Regions from separate parts of the Homo sapiens genome. Here all the other regions are linked to region 2. Evidence: promoter capture Hi-C in human tissues and cell types (Jung and others, 2019). All regions are on one chromosome and are shown on one strand. Each heading gives the region's core, a stretch centred on a gene start or on the middle of the fragment in contact. The rest is flanking DNA. Distances are from core to core; before and after follow the strand shown. Region 1 holds the start of ANAPC2 (anaphase promoting complex subunit 2). Region 2 has its middle 11 kb from the start of FBXW5. Region 3 holds the start of LRRC26 (leucine rich repeat containing 26).

Region 1 (2,700 bases), core at 138-2,637, 250 kb after region 2:
ACAAAAGGCACAGTGGAATTCTGCAGAGTCCAGGAAGTTTGGAGTTGCTAAGAAATTTGCTGCTGCAGACACAAGCCACATAGGGCCTTACCAGGGTCAAGGCATGAATCTGTGGGACTGAAGGTGAGTGACAGAAGAGAGACACCTGTGTCCAGGACACGCTGCACAGGAATCCCTGGGACTCTCTCTCTGTCATGTTCCTGGTTATCAGGACGGCTCACCAGCTTTCTGCTGAGGCCAGCTGGACCCAGGGGAGCAGCGGGGAACCAGAAGGAGCAAGGGCATGGCCATCGGGACAGACTACTCACAAGACCTGGCTGAGCTGATGGAACTGCTCCAGAGCCTGGCGACACCAGCACTGTTGCTTGTCACTGCTGCACCCTGCACACAGCGGGCTCTGCAGGAGCCGGTAGTACCGGCGACGGGCATACCGGCTGTCCAGCTCCCCTTCCAGTTCCGGGTCTGTGCCCCCTTCCCCCTTCCTCTTACTCTGCATATAGACTCTCAAGAAGCACCCATACAGACGCTGGATCATCTCTTGGAAGGTTCTGGGGGTGCTAAAGAACAAGACTCCGCGCAACATAGTGTGGACTTCTTCTCGCAGCCCCTGAGCACCAGTGCCCATCAGCAAGCCCAGGCGAGTCCATTTCTCCAGCAGCTCTAGGCTACGCAGGTAGGGATCCAGGCGGCTCTCCAGCAGGCCAAAAGCGTCAAGGAGTAGCAAAAGGCACTGGGGCTCATCCGCAGAGTTCTCGCATTGGGAGATGGCATTCCAGAACTCAGGGGAGATGTTGGCCTGCAGATCGTTCTGCAGCACCTCCACGAACCACTCCTCCAGGACCGAGTGTAGCCCGTGGCCCCTCAGAACCTCCACCGCCGCCCGGAGCTCCTCTTCCTTTGGCGGGACTGCACCGCTGGTCCGGGAAGACACCTGGGGTGCAGAAAACCGTGAGGCGAGGGGAACACAACATAGAGGTGGGGAGAGGCGGGGAAGGGAAGAAGCTGAGGGGGAGGCTGCAAAAACTCCGCTGCCCCCTGTCCGTGCTGCCCGGACGTTGGGCCGAAGCTATGGAAGGGCTGTCAGCGGAGCTGAACGAAACGAAACGGAAAGGTGGTGGAAAATGGCAGGACAGGACAGAGGCGGATGATGGACAGAGCCGTATGAACCCGAGGGTAGCGGCCCCAAAGCGCGTACGGTCCCGGAAACTCCGCGCGGGGCCGCCCCTCTCTTCCCAGGCCTCACCAGCCCCAGCGCAGCCGGCGGCACCAGGCCGGTGCTCACGGTGTTCCAGGCCACTAACAACTCCTGTCCGGGCCGGGAGTCGCTGTCCCCCTCCGCCACCACAACTGCCGCCGCCATCTGCACCCACCGACTCCGAGATTCGCTCGGCGCGGCGCGCGGCGATGACGCACGTCTGCACGCGCAGCCATGACGCGCACAAGGCGCTCAGCGATGACGCGCTAGTTCGGCGCGCCGTGGGGGAGTCGTGCGCAGGCGCGGACAGCGCTGCTTCCGCGGCGGTTGGGGTGGTGGGGCCCCGGGCGGCGTTGACCATGACCCAGCAGGGCGCGGCGCTGCAGAACTACAACAACGAGCTGGTCAAGTGTGAGCGGCGCAGCCGGGACGGGGAGGTCGGGAGGGCCGCAGGGCCGGGTTCCCGGCTCGCAGCGGGGTGCCCCTGGACCCGCCTCGCTGCGGGCATCGCGCGGCTGAGCAGAGCCCTCCGTGCCGGAGGCCGGGTGTCCGTGGCCCGAGCCCTCGCTGGCTCGCAGGCCCCGCGCCGGGCGCTCGGGGGTGGTGCCTGACTCTGGCTTCCTCGGGTGGAAGGAGGCCCGCCCTCCGCCGCCGCGCTCCTGCCCTGGGCCCACAGCGCCGCCCCTCCCGGCCCCCAGGCATAGAGGAGCTGTGCCAGAAGCGGGAGGAGCTGTGCCGGCAGATCCAGGAGGAGGAGGACGAGAAGCAGCGGCTGCAGAATGAGGTGAGGCAGCTGACAGAGAAGCTGGCCCGCGTCAACGAGAACCTGGCACGCAAGATTGCCTCTCGCAACGAGTTCGACCGGACCATCGCGGAGACGGAGGCCGCCTACCTCAAGGTGGAGCTCGGGAGGCCAGGCCGAGCATCAGGGGATAGGCACGGCAGGGGTGTTGCCACGGCAAGGCGTCAGGACCGGCTGGGGCTCCCGGCTGTGGGCAGTCTGTGCCTCGCTGGCATTTCGGGCAGGGGCAGCGTGGCCAGGCCCATTGAGGAACCCAGGCTGCTGTGGGAGTGACTGTGGGGCTGTCTGTGGGGCCTGGGGCATCCTGGGTCCTGGTCTTTATCCGGTTCTCGCTAGCCATGTGGTTATTTCTGCTCAGTGTGAAGAGCCAGGTCTTGGGCAGAGCACCCAGCACGGGCCAGTGCTAACCCAGCCTGGCTTTGAGGGTGGAGAGGAAGTGTTTTGGGTCAGATTCCGGAGGGAAGAGGGCCCTGCCACCCCGTCTGCCAGTCCCCTTGGGCTTCCGCCTTCCCCCACACAGGATCCCTTGGCTACAGCACCCCCAGCCAGGTCCCAGCACCTGAGTGTGAGGACAGCTGGGGCTTAGGACCTTACCAACAGGTGAACATTAACAACCTTCTCACTTCTCTGGCCCCAGATCCTGGAGAGCTCCCAGACTTTGCTCAGCGTTCTCAAGAGGGAAGCTGGGAACCTGACCAAGGCT
Region 2 (2,700 bases), core at 123-2,622:
ACTGTCTTCCAAAAAAAAAAAAAAAAAGATGCTTTTTCTATACCAAGTGATATGTTCATGTGGTTTTTCTCCTGTACAGTTAATATGGTGACTTATGTTGATCTTCAAATATTGGACCAACCTTGCATTCCTGGAATAAACCCTACCTGGTTATGGTGCACTATCACTTTTATATATTGCTGGATTTGATTTAAATTTTTTTTGAGGATTTTGCATCTCTGTTCATGAAGGACATTTGTCTATAATTGTCTTTTGTATTGTCTTTGTCTGGTTTTTGGTATCAGGGTGCTGTGGGCAGAAAATCGAGACCAGGAGTGGGTTTGTTGTCATCACAAATGCTCGAAAAATGTGGAAGCAGCTTTGGAACTGGGTAGTAGGCAGAGGCCAGAAGAGTTTGGAGGAGCGAGAAGAAGCTTAGATGCCATTCATGGAGTGTAAAGGGTGATTTTGTTGAGGGCTCAGAAGAGAACTGTAGGGAAAGTCTGAAGCTTCTTTGAGAATACTTAAAGTGGTCATGGTCAGAATGTTGGTAGAAATCTGGACAGTGAAGGCCATTCTGGTAAGATCTCAGACAGAAATGAAGAACAAGGTGTCAGAAACTGGAGGAATGACCATCCTAGTTATAAAGTGGCAGAGAACGTGGCTGAACGGTGTCCATGCCCAGTCCTTCCTTTGTGGAAGGAACTGGGATATCTGGCTGAAGAAATACTCAGGGTGTGGCATGTTTTCTTCTAACTGCAGAGAGTAAGATGTGAGAAGAGAAATGAATTAAAGATGGAATTTATAATTAACAAGGAAAGAATAGGGATCGTAAGGATTTTCAGCCTGCCCATTTAGGGAGTAAATAAGATGTCTTTAGGAGAACAGACCAAGTGTGTGGCCAAGCAACTTAGTATGGACAGAACGAAGCCAGAGGCTGCTCATCAGGACAGTGGGAAAATGGCCCCAGAGGCATTTCAGATTCCTGGTGCTGCCCCTCCCACCACAGGCCCAGAGTGCCAAGGCCTTTGGGAAGGAAATATGTCAAAAGAGAGGTGTAGGGTGTGGACCTTAGAGCCTGCTGGCCAGGGCCACCCCAAGTCTTGGCTGTCTGCATTCCAGTGCAGACCCCCTAAGCCACTCCAGCCTGTCTCATGTGGACCCAGGGAAGGTACAAGTCATAAGCCTTGGTGGTGTCGATTCTGCAGCCTTGCAGGAGCTGTGGGGACATGGCTTCATCCACTGGGTGTCACACAGGATGTCACAAGTCTCCAGGCCAGAGCCATGGCAGAGAGCCCACACTAGGGCAATATGTGGTAGAGCCTTGGGGATAAGGCCACCCCTGAGACCCCAGAACTGGAGAGCCTCTAGTGTTCATTGCCAGCCTGGGAGAGCTGAAGGCACGAGACTCCAACCTAAGAGAGTTGTGTGAGGTCTGAGCCCAGCAAAGCTCTAGGGGTGAGGTTCCCAAGAGCCTGAGGACCCAGCCGCACCCCACGGCGTGCAGAAGGCAGGATTTGGAGTCAAAGATGATGATTCTCAAGCCTTAGGATTTAGTAGTATTCTCCCTGTTGGACTTTGGACATGCTTTTGAGGCCTGTTATTCCTTTCCTCTTTATAATTTATCCCTTTGGAATGGAAATGTCTGTTCTATGCCTGCCCTACCATTGTATTTTGGAAGCACGTAACTTGTTTAATTTCACAGGCTCATAGTGGAGGGAAAGTTGCCTCAGGATGAATCATGCCTTGAGTCTCACCCATGTTTGATTTAGACGAGACTCTGGGCTTTGGACTTTTGAATGGGGCCATTGGGATGGAATGAGTATATTTTGTATGTGAAAAGAACATGAATTGGTGTAGGGGCAGGGATGGAATGCTACGGTTTGAATGTTTTTATCTCCCAAACTCATGTTAATATTTAATTGTCATTGTAACAGTGTTAAGAGGTGGGATCCTTAAAGGGTGATTAGGTCAGAGGGAAGATAGGCTGGAATTGGTGCTGGTATAATAAGATGAGCTTGGCCCTCTCTTGCCCTTCCACCTTCCACAGTGACACAACAAGAAGGATTGCACCAGACGCTGGCACCTTACTCTGGGACTTCCCAGCCCCCAGAACTGTGAGCCAATAAATTTCTATTCCTTATAAATTATCTGGTCTCAGGTATTCGGTTATAGCAGCAAAAACAGACTAAGAGAAGACAATGTTTGTGCCCCCCCCACCCAATTTCCTGTGTTGAAACATAATCTCCAATGTGATGGTACTTGGAGGCAGGACTTTTTAGATCATGAGGGTGCAACACTTGTGGATGGGATTCGTGCCCTTAAAAAGAGGCTGCAGCCCAGTATGGTGGCTCACGCCGTAATCCCAGCACTTACGGAAGCCGAGGCAGGCGGATCACTTCAGCCTAGGAGTTCAAAACCAGCCTGGACAACATGGCAAAACCCCATCTCTACAAAAAATATAAAAATTAGCTGGGTGTGGTGGTGCATGCCTGTGGTCCCAGCTACTTGAGAGGCTGAGGTGGGAGGATCACTTGAGCCTGAAGGTCGAAGCTGCAGTAAGTCATGACTGTACTGGTGACTCAAGGCTGGGCAACAGAGTGAGAACCTGTCTTTTTTTTTTTTTTTTTTTTTGAGATGGAGTCTTGCTCTGTCGCCCAGGCTGGAGTGCAGTGGCGCGATCTCGGCTCACTGCAAGCTCCGCCTCCTGGGTTCACGCCA
Region 3 (2,700 bases), core at 77-2,576, 240 kb after region 2:
TGCAGTGGTGATGCCTAAAGGAATGTCACGCAGTTTTCGGTCTGTGTCGCTTGTTGACGCCGGCAGACAGTGTAAAGGGAGGGCAAAGGCATGGGGGAAGCTTCGAGCGCTCCAGGCGGCCGCGGCCGCTCAGGCTTGGGCGGCAGCGGCGGGGCTCCCCGGGTCCGCGGGCGAGGCACAGCCGTGGGGGTCGGGATCGGGGTTCGGGTCTGGCGGTCTCGGCGGGCGGAGGGCGGCGGTGCGGAGGCGGCGGCGGCGCGCACGGCAGGCGGTGAGCCCAGAGCCCAGCGCCAGGCAGGAAGCCAGGCTGACGAGGAAGGAGGCCGGCCCGAGCGTGTAAACCACGGCCAGGTCCCGCAGGGCGAGCGGCTGCGCGCAATGGCTAAAGGCGGCGTCGGAAAAGGCAGTCAGGGGGCTGAGCGTCAGGCGTCCCGGCCACACGCAGAGCACCGTCTCGGCCTCTGTGGGACACAGACAAAGGCGCGGCGTCAGGTGGCGGCTGCCGCACCGCCCTGCAGACCCCGACCCGCGTCCCCAGCAGCTCACCTGACGCGGGCAGCGGGTGCCGGCGCAGCCAGGCGCAGAGCGGGCGCAGCGCGCACCCGCAGCCCCAAGGGTTGCCGCGCAGGTGCAGCGCGTCTAGAGCGGGCAGGCGGCCCAGCAGCCCCGGCGCGAGTGCCGCCAGCTCGTTGTCCTGCAGGCTGAGTGAGCGCAGCAGCGGGAGCGCGCCTAGCGCCGCGGGCTCCAGGCGCGCCAGCCGGTTGCCGGCCAATGAGAGGTTGCGCAGCGCGCGCAGCGGCGCGAAAGTCCCTGGTGCCAGTGCTTCCAGCTGGTTGGCGCTCAGGTCCAGCAGCTGCAGCGCGCCCAGGCCCCAGAAGGCTCGCACATGCACCGAGTGCAGCCCGTTCTCGCGCAGGTCCAGGCGCTGTAGCGCGCCCGCTCCCGCGAAGGCACCTGGCGGCAGCGCACGGACGCGGTTGTGGTCCAGCAGCAGCGCGCGCAGGCGCAGGCTCAGGCCCGGGGGCACGGCGGGCAGCGAGAGTGCCGAGCAGCTGGCCAGGCCTCCCGGCACGCACGTGCACACCTCGGGGCAGTCCGGGGCGCCCAGGGACCCCGAGGGCGAGGCCGTGGCCGACACCTGGGCCCAGACAGGCCAAGGCGACAGCAGCAGCAACAGCAGCAGCAGCGGCCGAGGCCGCGACCAGGAAGGGCCCCGCATGGGGGCAGCCCCCCCGCCCCCGGCACCCGCGGTGGGAGGCCCGCTGCCTGTGCGTCCCTGGAGCCCGTCGTCCGCGGAGCCCGTTCCTGCGGCGCCTGCACAAATATTAACTCTCTGGCCCGAGCTCAGGCAGTTCCTGTCCCACGGCTGGATCCACGCTTGGGGCGGGGGCAGGGCAAACAGCCAACGCCCGGCACCGCCAGCCACCTGTCCGGGAGCTCCAAACTACTCTTGGCTCAGCGCCGGCCACAGCGCTATCAAGACCACCTCACCCCGCCTTGTCCACCACCGGGCGCCCGCCGAGCCCTGACCTGAGCAGCAGGACACCGCCCACCTGCACCCGCCCAGCTCACGGCTGCAACAGGCGCCCACACGCAATGCAACCCAGAGGTCCTGCTCCTCACCCGTCTCGACCCCACCCAGGCTCCGCAAAGTGATCCCAACGTGCACATGCGGAGTGGCCCCCACGCAGGGATGGTCCCATTCCCATGCTGGATAGGGCCTGGGTTGGAGACAGGCCTTGGGGTGGAGGGAGACAGCACACCCGAGGCAGGAGAGGCGTGCCTGCCCCACCCCTCCCCCCCAGGACTCTCCTGGGATAGAGGTACAGACCAGTGCAGTGGGGCAGGGGTATCAGCCCAAGTCCTGCTGTTAAACCCAGCGCCCTTCACAGTTGCCAGTTGCAGGTCCTGTTCTAGGGGCTTTCCAAAGCTGGGTGCAGGAAGGAGCCGGGCTGACCAGCTGTGGCAGAGAAGGTGGAAACATTAGGGGTATGGCTTACTGCCAGGGGGCAGAGGAACAGGGGAACTTGCTGTGGGGCCTGGGCACTCTGCTTTGATGAGACCCATATGCGCGTGCACCCCCCATGATGCAGCCGTGAGGGGTGTGAGGGCCTGCAGGGAGGACGGTGCACAACCACTAAACAAGCTTTAATTCCCCTCCCCCAGCTGCCCTCAGGAGGGCCTGCAGGGAGGACAGTGCACAGCCACTAAATACGCTTTAATTCCCCTCCCCCAGCTGCCCTCAGCCCTCTACTCAGGTGGTAGGGGCGGGGGTGGTGGCGGCTCCTCTGAAGAAGCCTCCATGGGGATGGCCACAAGGCTCTGATCCTCTAGTGGTGGCACCAGGGAGACCTCCAGGTCAGCGTCCATTAGCTGGGACTCCACGTAAACCGGGTGCAGGTCCATGAGATCTTCCTGGACCCCAAAATTCTCCACCAACCTGCATGACGGGCCGGGTCATCACGAGCTGGTAGAGTCCTTGTTCCCCCAGGACAGGCTGGCGTCTGGGACAGTGCACCCCCACAAAGGGCCTCCCTTGGGACAGCACACCTCCTCTTCCAGGGACAGCACCCCTCCTCCTCCAGGGACAGCACCCCTCCTCCTCCAGGGACTCCCCTGGGATAGCTCCCCCCGCCAAGGGCCTCCCCTGAGACAGCGTGCCTCCCTCGAGGGCCTCCCTGGTGCTCACCTGTTGTCCAC

Evidence for each region. The method cuts DNA at HindIII sites, captures the fragments that hold promoters and counts their contacts. A contact is called where the count stands out against the background at its distance.
Region 1: a contact is called between the fragment with the promoter of ANAPC2 here and a fragment that was not itself captured in region 2, in 12 of the 25 tissues and cell types used here (H1 embryonic stem cells, IMR-90 fibroblasts, dorsolateral prefrontal cortex and 9 more).
Region 3: the fragment with the promoter of LRRC26 here is called in contact with a fragment that was not itself captured in region 2 in 3 of the 25 tissues and cell types used here (H1 embryonic stem cells, dorsolateral prefrontal cortex and mesenchymal stem cells).

The regions. Positions count from the first base shown.
Region 1 is chr9:137,187,173-137,189,872 of GRCh38, forward strand. It overlaps ANAPC2 (anaphase promoting complex subunit 2), which reads right to left and starts at 1,388. Exons shown (of 13, transcript NM_013366.4): 1 at 1,244-1,388; 2 at 309-931. The coding sequence starts at 1,360. SSNA1 (SS nuclear autoantigen 1) reads left to right here and starts at 1,504. Exons shown (of 3, transcript NM_003731.3): 1 at 1,504-1,606; 2 at 1,894-2,093; 3 at 2,635-2,700. The coding sequence starts at 1,555. RefSeq lists an enhancer at 1,296-1,515 and a silencer at 1,546-1,895. The HindIII fragment of the contact is 18,290 bases long and covers 1-2,700 here.
Region 2 is chr9:136,932,698-136,935,397 of GRCh38, forward strand. No RefSeq gene overlaps it. Among named protein-coding and RNA genes, the nearest start is that of FBXW5, 11 kb to the right of the region's middle. The HindIII fragment of the contact is 7,838 bases long and covers 1-2,700 here.
Region 3 is chr9:137,168,725-137,171,424 of GRCh38, forward strand. It overlaps LRRC26 (leucine rich repeat containing 26), which reads right to left and starts at 1,327. Exons shown (of 2, transcript NM_001013653.3): 1 at 547-1,327; 2 at 34-461. The coding sequence starts at 1,219. The coding sequence ends at 130. It overlaps TMEM210 (transmembrane protein 210), which reads right to left. Exons shown (of 4, transcript NM_001282477.2): 3 at 2,690-2,700; 4 at 2,134-2,440. The coding sequence ends at 2,251. MIR3621 (microRNA 3621) reads right to left here and starts at 546; the gene lies at 462-546. GRIN1 (glutamate ionotropic receptor NMDA type subunit 1) reads left to right here. Exons shown (of 20, transcript NM_007327.4): 20 at 1-32. RefSeq lists silencers at 1-59, 300-819, 980-1,039. The HindIII fragment of the contact is 5,034 bases long and covers 1,124-2,700 here.